Linked DNA regions of Homo sapiens: region 2 is linked to region 1. Evidence: promoter capture Hi-C in 16 types of primary human blood cells and fetal thymus (Javierre and others, 2016). All regions are on one chromosome and are shown on one strand. The core of a region is centred on a gene start or on the middle of the fragment in contact, and the rest is flanking DNA. Distances in the headings are between cores, read along the strand shown.

Region 1 (3,750 bases), core at 551-3,050:
GCACAGGAGTCAGGGCCTGGTCTCCTGCAGCCCTAGGGTCCACTGGTCCGGGTCTGCCGCCTGGCTGCCTCCAGGGATGTCCAGCCTGCAGCTGAGGCCCTCTCTGTTCAACTCCTTCCAGCCTGGATAGGCAGGACTTGACCTCGAGGCCTGAGCTGGGAGCCTGACATGGGTGGGGATGGGAACGGTGGGGGCACAGGGGCCAAACTCTTTATCTGCCGGCCTCACCCTGGAGGGTGTGATAATGACAGGATGGTGGGCTCCCCAGAACCTGGCTGCTGGGTTTCCAGATACTCTTGGTGTTACTGCTGTACTTCCAGCCCCTGTCATTGGCGTTATGGTTGTGCCAAGACCCAGGCCTAGCACCTGGCCGGTAGTAAGTGCTCAGGAATTGGCTCCATTCATGCTCTCCCAGGCTAGATGTTTAAGACATATCTTTGCCAATTCTCTGTCCTTGGGCCCCTGGGAAGCCCGCAGCCCTTCCTCTCTGCTCCCTCTCTACCTGCTATAGGGCCCAGTCATCTCAGGTCTGAATGTTCATAGCTTTTCTGCCTCTCTGCCCACCTCCTTCCTGGTTTCCAGAGTCCTTTCTGTGTGTCAGGCGCAAGCTATGTGCTGGTGCTGGGCACACAGTGGGCTGGGGTAGGAGGGGGCACAGAACCACAGATGTACATGTCAATAGGAAGTGGTAGGTGCTCCACCAGGGTTCAATCTGGGGAGGCTCCCCAGAGGAGGTGGCATTCATGCAAATTCAGTGTGGGTATGCAGGGAGGGGGAAGCAGTGGGAGGAGAGGCAGGGGCTGGGTCTCCATGCCAGGGTGCCACTTGCCAAGAACCAGCTTGGGGTAGCCATCTGAGGACCACACTGGCAGCTCCAAAAGGCCCCAGCCTTGACCCCTGCCTGGTCCTCGCTTTTGCTTGCCTGCTCTCCCCTGCAGCAGTGCCCTCTCCTGCCCTCCTGGGCCCCAGCTCACATTCACCCTGCCTGCTTCATGGCTTCTCCCCGCCAGGAATGACCCTCCCTTCCAAATGGGCTTGGGGTGGGGGGTACAATCTCAAAGGCAGTTTCCTCCATAGAGTTCCCAGGTGGACCACTAAGTCTCCTGCTTTGGCTGGGGGCACCCTAAAGGGTGATTAACTTCTCTCAGCCTCAGTTTCCTCATCTGTGAAATGGGAATATCAGTGCATACCTTCCTGGCTCATGGGGAATAACAGAAAACAGGGCAACGGGTACAGCACCTGGGGACAGTCACCTAAGTGTCAGCGTGTCCTCCTTTTCATCCCCTCCTCTCCACACAGCACACAGGAAGTGAGCCAGAACTCTTGCTAGATAAACAATGAACCCCGCCCAGGTGTCAGGAGTGGGAGATAACCAGGCTCCCCCCGCCGGGGTCGGGGAGAGTCAGCAGGAGGCTTGCGGGGGCGGCGGGGGGGGGGGCGCTGCCCAATCTGGAGTGAGATACTCTGTGTCCCTGGGGCTTTCGGCGGCATCTTACTTGGACGATCCCTAACCATGGGAAGCAGATGAGTCTGGAAATATTGCCCCTTTTTGGAACTTGGGGAAACTGAGCGTCAGAAAAATTGGGGACTTCAACCAGGGGCTGGAATGAATCCAGCCCAGCTCAGACCTCAGGAGGAGGGGTCGGAAGTTGGCAGGGGAGGAAGGCATAGTCGCCGCGGGGCGCCCGGAGGAGGGCGGGGGCGCCGCGGGCCGGGCCGGGTCACGTGATAGCCGAGGCCCGCCCCCCCCCCCCCCGCCCACGTGGGCCGGGAGGTGCGGCTACTCCCCCGGCCCCGGCAGACCTGCGACTGGCCCAGTCGCCCCTGGGGCCCTTTGCCACTCCCTTGGCAAGGAGAGCCGAGACCTCAGTTCCCGGCGGCTCTTGCGGGGCACAGGTGAGCCCTGGCTGCGCGCGCGGCCCCTCCTCCCCGGCGCCTCCCAGGTGAGCGGCCGCGATCCCGGTCCCGGGTCCCGCCAGCCCCAGCTGCTTCTCCTATGCGGGGACAGCGGCAATCCCCCCTGAATTCCTTTCGGCCTCTGGGGCCATTTGGCAGCCGAGTTCCCTCCCCGGGTGCTCCTGGAGCTCCCAGGGCTTGACCCTCCGGCTCGGACAGAGCTGGGAGCGGCAGGGGCGGGGAGGACAGTGCGGGGAGCAAAATCCGCAGCCCCCACCCAGGTCCCCCAGCCGAGCGCCAGGGCACGGGGAGGGGAGGGGAGGGGGTGTGGCCGGGATGGGAAGGGGCGGGGGACAGGGAGGCCGGCTGGACGGGTTCGGTGGCCCCAGAGTTGCAGCCGCTCTGGGCTCTGGGGCCAGGTTGCGGTTCTCCCTGGGTAGCGGCTGCTCCCGGGAAGCTCGCTGCCGGCTGGGGTGGGGGTTCCTGGAAACGGGCGCCACCCAGCCTCTCCCCACCTAGCTCAGGAATGGTGCGCCTGGAAACTCCGCTGGACTTGCCTGGGCCTCGGGGCGGAGTGCTGGGGCGCTGGGTGCCCGAGTCCCCGGGTTCCCTGAGCTTAGAAGGGCCTGTCTGGAGGAAGGGATTCCAGCTCTAGGGACTGGGTGGGGCGTCCTCAGCCCCTCTTTCGGCAGCTGTCCCGTGTTAGGCTGGGTGGGGCCGCCTCGGACCCAGCTCTGGGCTGGTTTTCCCACGTCTTTGCTCCTGCTGGAGGGAGGGGGTGGTGTGGGGCCTGGGCCCGAAGATGGCACCCAGGACACTGAGGGAGGGCGCCGTCCGGTCCTGTGACTGGCACCCCTGCAAGGAGCTGCTCTGTCGGGGCGCCCCCGGGCTTTGCCTGTCCGAGGAAAGCGCCCTTCAACCCGGCCGACTTTGAGCCCTGAGTTCCTGAGGGTGAGCGCAGGAGGAGTCCAGGGCAGAGGCCGGCAGGACTCGCTGGTGGCTGGGAGCTGAGTCCTGGCTCCACTCTCACAGATGAACGGGCCCCGAGCCCAGGGCCCCAGACAAGGCTGCTCTGGTTCCAGTTGTGCCGGGTGACGGCAGAGCCAGGACAAAGGAGGCCTGTTGAGGTCCTGGCCACCCCCAGCCGGCCGCCCTGGGATGATGGAATGCAGGGCAGTGGGTCTTCTGAGAACATGAGGACCTTGGCGCCCTGACGGCGGTGGCATGGAGTGACCTCTGTGTGTGGGGGAGGAGCCCCCTGTGCTGCTTCCGCCTGGGGCTGGTTGGGGGTGAGGGCTCCAGCAGCTAATTTCCTGCTAGAGGAAGTTCTTTGAGGTCACAGGGCAGACGCAGAGAAGGCCTACAGCCTACTCTGACCTTTCTCTCCAAAAAGGAGGTGTCTCTGTGCCAGAACCCTGGGCATGGAGATCCTGAAAGGGGCTGTGTCTACAGGCACCCTACCTCTTCCCCATTTCCCAGGGACTGGCGACATCGAGGAAACAGATGTGGAACTGCAGACCCCACACCCTTCCTTCCTCTCTCCCCTCCCCTGACACTGGAGGGGGCCCCCCATTCCATTCTGGCATGAGGCTTATTCGGTGCCTCACCATTTATGTACCTGGGGTGATAGGGGGGTGGGCGGGACTGTCTGGGCTGTGAGTGGCACCTCCTGTGGTTCCCCCAGGAATGGGTGGTGTGGACAGCTGCCAGGCGTTGAAGACCACCCCTGGCTCTGTGCCCCTGTCTCATCAGATGGGGGCTCCGGAGGTGGCGCCCAGGCTCTGAGCTACCCTAGGTCTGCAGACTAGCGGGCATTGGCCAGAGACATGGCCCAGCCACTGGCCTTCATCCTCG
Region 2 (5,664 bases), core at 2,755-5,254, 710 kb before region 1:
GGTGCCACAGGGCCACAGGAAGGGGTGCCAGCCCCAAGAGAACAGTGGAGGCTTTGTGCGGCAGAGGCCTGGATCCTTCTTCCCCAGGAGTTGGAGACTGGAGGCCTTTAGCAAGTGCTTCCTAGGGAAACTTCAGGTCCCTCTGGGCAGAAAGGAGCCCAGAAGGGTGGATATTTGGGGGAGATGGCTGGCACCAGAGATGGCTGGCACCAAGGGGGCTGGGACTGCAGGAGGCTGTGTGGGGCGGGGACTTGGAGGGAAGTGACAGAGCAAGGGAAAGGGCTGGCGAGTGTGAGCGTGAGAGTCGGTGGATTTTGAAAGTGTGTGAGTGTGGTGGGGTGTGTGAGTGTGTGTGAGGATGTGAGTAAGAGAGAATGTATGTGTGTGTGTGTTGGGGGAATCCCTGGGACCGAACTTATTGTAGAAAGGGTGGCATCCTGCCCAGCTGCATTTAGGGGAAGGACCTCTGCCAGCCTAGGGCACATCTGGCTGAGGTGACCCTTGAGCTTGAGAGCAGTACCAGGGGAGCGATGCAGGGAATCCGCAGACTAGAAGACCAGGGTGCACCTCCCCAAACAGCCGGCTGCCTGGAGTGGCTCTTCGGAGCCTGGGTAAACCCCTGGAGATCTGTCCTATTCAAAGGAGGCAGAGAGCCCCCAAAATGATTGAGGTGGGGAATTCCAACCACCGATGGGGTAGAGGTATTAAACTAATTTAGTTTACCAAAATGAAACAAGAGAAAAGGCCGGGAGGTGGGGTGCGGTGGCTCACGCCTGTAATCCTTGCACTCTGGGAGGCTGAGGGGGGCAGATCACCTGAGGCCAAGAGTTCAAGACCAAACATGGCGAAACCCCATCTCTACTAAAAATACAAAAATCAGCTGGGTGTGGTGGCGTGCACCTGTGATCCCAGCTACTCTGGAGGCCGAGACACGATAATCGCTTGAACCCGGGAGGCGGAGCTTGCAGTGAGCTGAGATTGCACCACTGCACTCCAGCCTGGGCGACAGAGTGAGACTCCACCTCAGAAAAATAAAAAACAAGAGAAAACTACAAAATACGTATCCTGACTTGTGCCAAAGCATCTCGGAGCAGCTGCTGCTCTTGCTAGTGCCCTCTGTGGTCCCAACTCCTGGCCGCCACCTGCCCGGGCCTGGGCTGCCGCCTTGCACAGCCATTCTCCTGGCACGGTCAGATGTCTGAGAGTCAACACCATTTAGGAAGGATGACTTTCTCCACCCCTTCTGAGACTAGAAACAAAATGGAAGGGTCATAAGAATGGTGCCAAGCAGCCAAAAGAGCCACTTCCTTTGGGTACCAACAGGTGGCGTGGCGTCATGGCTCCTGTCTTCCCCAAGTGCCTGTGCCCAGCAGCTGCCTCTGCCTGTGCATCTTCTAGGGCGATGCTAATGGCAGATTTCCTGAGAGCCCTGTCCCATCTGCATGGATGGGAAGGACGACATACATTGCTGTTCTTCCTAAGGAAAGTGGCATCCCTCCCAAACCTGGGAACTCGGGTCTCCATGGACCGCACAGACACCTGAGAAAAGGTTTTGCATCAGAGGCTGATGGCAGAGGCTCTACCAGTCCAGCAAGTCACCTGACTGATGTGAAGGGTTCCCCTAGAGCAGGAGGGACATCTGGGCTGAAAACCCTCATGTGAAAAGGCCTGGGCCCCCCAGGCACTCGGCACCTATGAAATGCAACCCCAGCGGGTGGAAAAGCAAGTCCACGATTGCACTCCCCTGCCAGGCTAGGGAGAAATTCTGCTATTGCAGTTCAGGGGCAACACACCCACCCCCGCAGACCTGAGGGTGGCTGCAACTGTCAGCCACACCCAAAGAATGCAGGGCAGGCTCACTGTGGATAAATGTTTATGAAAGAACCACATGGAAATTGAAATATTTGAGATGAGACTGAATGATCTCTAAATCCTAAAAGAGAAAACTAGAGAAACATTAAAGATGAAAGAATAAAATATTCTGTTATAGAAAGCTGTAACCAAAACGGATCACATTAGAACTTACCTCAAGAAAAAGGTGCATTAACAGAATAGTTGTATTGTCACCCAAAAATTACCTGGTCCGCTCCCTGCCTGGGAGGTCAAGGTAAGATGGACTCAATTCCTCTCCTGGTTTCACAGCCTGTAGAAGATGGCTGAAGATTTGGGCTAATTTCGTGAGAGACCTACGTTGCATTTCTTTCTTTTTTTTTTTTTTAGACCAAGTATTGCTCTGTTGTCCAGGCTGCTGGAGTGCAATGGCACGATCTCAGCTCATTGCAACCTCCACCTCCCAGGTACAAGCGATTCTCCTGTCTCAGCCTCCCTAGTAGCTCGGATTACAGGCGTGCGCCACCATACCCAGCTAATTTTTGTATTTTTAGTAGAGACAGGTTTTCACCATGTTGGCCAGGCTGGTCTGGAATTCCTGACCTCAAGCGATCTGCCTGCCTCGGCCTCCCAAAGTGCTAGGATTACAGGCGTGAGCCACTGTGCCCTGCCTTTTTTTCTTTTCTTTTCTTTTCTTTTGAGACGGAGTCTCGCTCTGTCGCCCAGGCTGGAGTGCAGTGGCGACATCTCAGCTCGCTGCAACCTCCGCCTCCTAGGTTCAAGGGATTCTCGTGCCTCAGCCTCCTGAGTAGCTGGGATTACAGGCGCCCACCACCACACCCAGCTAATTTTTGTATGTTTAGTAGAGACGGGGTTTCACCATGTTGGCCATGCTGGTCTCGAACTCCTGACCTCAGGTGATCCGCCCACCTTGGCCTCCAAGTGTTGGGATTACAAGGGTGAGCCACCGCGCCCAGCCCAAGGATTCTTACAGATAGGGCATAGTCTCAGCATCAGACTAATATGGTTATCTTGTTTGCTTTTTTCAAAAAACACCAGCGCCCAGGTAATAAATACAAGGTGAATTTTGTTCCAAGTACATCTAGCCTCTCTCCCCATCTCCAGTCCCTGCTTTAGGATCCGTGGGGAGGGCATGGAAATTCGTTTTGGGTTGTTTACCTGTGACTTCACCCTACTCATCATTCCTACTTACATCAAAAAAGACACAGCAGATACGACTGTGTTTGCAAAGTTCTGCCTTTTGGATAAAGTAGTTTATGCCCATCCTGTGCTTCTCTGAGTTTCTGAGGTCAGGCCAGGAACCAACACTCTCAACCTGCCCAAGGGAATGGGGAGGAAGCCAGCGAAGTTGCCTCAGATCAAGAGGATTTTTAAAAATACTGCAAAAGAAATACGTGCTCACAAATACTCAGCTAAAACCTTCGCAGAGCTGTCAGAGGACAAAGCTTTTGGAGGGAGTGGGTGGAGCTAGAGATTGCACAGCCGCCACCAGCCTACAAAGGTCAAATCTCACACTCTCAGATCCCTAATTCCGAAGAGCCATTTCCTCGGCAGCCCCAGGCTTTGGCCGATCGCTCCCAGATCCCTCCCTCCCCAAACTGCAGGTGCTCCGCGTGTGGGAGTCACGGATGGCCCCAGAGCCCGGGACGTTAAGGCCGAGCGCCCGCGCCTCCGCTTCTCCACAGCCACCTGACGGCCAGGGGCAGGTGGGGGAGCCCAGCCTTCTCCCTGCCCGGGAGACAGCGCGGGAGGGCTGTTGCAGGGGTGGGCAAAGTCCCTCGAGTCCCCGTTCTGGGGCGGGGGCGCGCGCCACTGTCACACTTCAGGCGTCCGCCACGCCGCCAGGTGTGCTCGGCCGACCCGGAAGTAGCGGCACCTCTAGTGCGCTGCGGAGACGTCACCCTGCCGCGGCACAGGGGCGGGAGCGCCTGTGGCTCTGCGCACTTGCGTCATCACGTAGGCTGGCGGGGTCCCGTGATGGGGAGGTGACGTAGGCGACACGGAAGCGGCGGTGGGCGGGGACAGGGAGTTAGCGGAATCTAGCCCCGCCTCTTAAAGCCTCCCAACCCTTTCGGAGTTAGCGCAGCGCGAACGCTGGGTGCGGCGCCTTTAAGCGTCGCGGTGACACGTGTGTGAGGCGCCGGAGGCCCGGATGGTGCGCGTGCTGGGCCGCGGGCCGAAGGAGTCGCCAGGGCTGCGTAGGCTTGTGGCGCGCCCGCGGAGAGGCCGGGGTAGGCTGGGGTCGGGTCGGGGCGGTGCGCAGGCCTGGGGACGAGACCGGGGCGGGGGGTTCCGCGAGGCCTGGGGCGCGGGAAGGGCTGGCGGGCGCAGCCGGGACGCTCAGGGAGAACGTGGGCGCGGGTCCGCGCAGGGCTTCGGCCGTCCCCGAGGAGGACCCGGGATGCTCCGCCCGCTCGCGAGCTCGCTTCTCCAGAGCCCGGGTATTCCCGAGGAGGGTCCGGGGCCGGGCTGTCCTCGCCGGTCTCCGCCGTCCCCCGGGCTCCGGGCCGGTGATGGGGGTCGCCGGGGCCCGCTGTCTGTGCAGGATTCAGGTCAACTTCGGAGAGGTTGAAGTCGGAATCAGGGCGAGGGCGTCGCGTGCGGCCGCAGAGCTCAGCGGGGCGGGTGCGGCCCCGGGGCGGGCACCTTCCTCGTGGTTGCGGAGGAGGCCATGGAGCCCGGGGCGGGGTGCGGTTCCGATGCTGCTGCTTCTGGCGGGTGGCGTGGGGGTCCTGGGCCTGGGGCTGGAGTGGCGGCCGCCAAACCCAGACACACGAGAGGGGAGACTCCGCGCGCCCCCGTTTACGTAACGCTCGCCACGGAGCCATGCTCGGGGAGAGGTGCTCGGGTCGCTGTGTCCGCGGCCGGGCTCGGGGCAGGCGCTGCGGAGTCGCCCGGGAGGCCCCTGGAGCGCGGCGCTGGGCCCCGGGAGGCCGCTGCTTCCGTGGGCTCCTCTCCCCAGCACGTGGTTGACCCTGCGAGCGTCCGTTGCAGTTCATCCTGGAAAAGTGACTTTAGAAGGAGGAGGGAGCGGGAATGAGCCTAAATGGTGCTGGCTGGGGTTCGCGCAGGTGGAAATGTGGATGAGGCCTGTGCTGTCCTTGGACAAGAGAGAGCATCCTTCCTGAGTTGGGTAGAGTGTGGATGGTGTGTGCGTCGGAGGGATTGCTAGTGATTACAGGAACACTTGTCTCGGGCTCCTACACGTCAGAGAGCGAGCGAGCGTTGTTTAGGTTATTGCTTAATGTTTTAGGTGGAATTGGTGAAGTAGAGATTGACCTGTCCCACTTGAAAAATTGTGTTCAAAATCTCTGCATCTACATTAAGGAGTGGGTTAAGTTCAAAGTTACTTATCTCGAGTGAAACTGGGTTACATCTCCCAAGGTTCGTTTATCCCCTCCCTAAGTGGTTCTCAAGCGTTGGTTGTGCATGACAGAGTTCTCACCTTCCAGGGTAGATGTGAGTCCTAACCGAAAGCAGTGATATTGTGGGGAGTTTTTAATACGACTGGATGTCTTCACTTTGTAGATGGCTTTTATTCTGAGATCATTTCCTTACACATTTTTCGGGAGTTGGTATGCTTTTATTTATGGATGAAGTCATAGGTCTGAGATTTGCTGTAGAATTACCTGGGGATGGGAAGTGACTCAGGATGGGTCAGATGTAGTTACTGAGGCTGAATAAGGGGGGCTCATGTGCTCCCTGTGCGGTTCTCCATCTGTGTGTTTGAATGTTTTCACTGTAAACTGTTTTTACGAACCTTAATTTTATGTAATCATAGTGATCGTAGATGGTAATGAAAGAGAAAATCCA

The links. Contacts are between HindIII fragments. The CHiCAGO score rates a contact against its expected background, and 5 or more counts as called.
Region 2: a contact is called between the fragment with the promoter of USP36 here and the fragment with the promoter of TMC6 in region 1, in 2 of 17 cell types (activated CD4 T cells and non-activated CD4 T cells). The highest score is 5.6, in activated CD4 T cells.

What each region holds. Positions count from the first base shown.
Region 1 is chr17:78,126,805-78,130,554 of GRCh38, reverse strand. It overlaps TMC6 (transmembrane channel like 6), which reads left to right and starts at 1,800. Exons shown (of 20, transcript NM_001127198.5): 1 at 1,800-1,943; 2 at 3,649-3,750. The coding sequence starts at 3,723. RefSeq lists silencers at 1,707-2,236, 3,507-3,586, 3,637-3,686 and an enhancer at 2,917-3,166. The HindIII fragment of the contact is 18,616 bases long and covers 1-3,750 here.
Region 2 is chr17:78,839,154-78,844,817 of GRCh38, reverse strand. It overlaps USP36 (ubiquitin specific peptidase 36), which reads left to right and starts at 4,004. Exons shown (of 21, transcript NM_001385174.1): 1 at 4,004-4,082. LOC124904067 (a long non-coding RNA gene) reads right to left here and starts at 3,704. Exons shown (of 2, transcript XR_007065923.1): 1 at 1-3,704. RefSeq lists silencers at 3,517-3,616, 4,077-4,596 and enhancers at 3,737-3,926, 5,521-5,664. The HindIII fragment of the contact is 3,098 bases long and covers 3,299-5,664 here.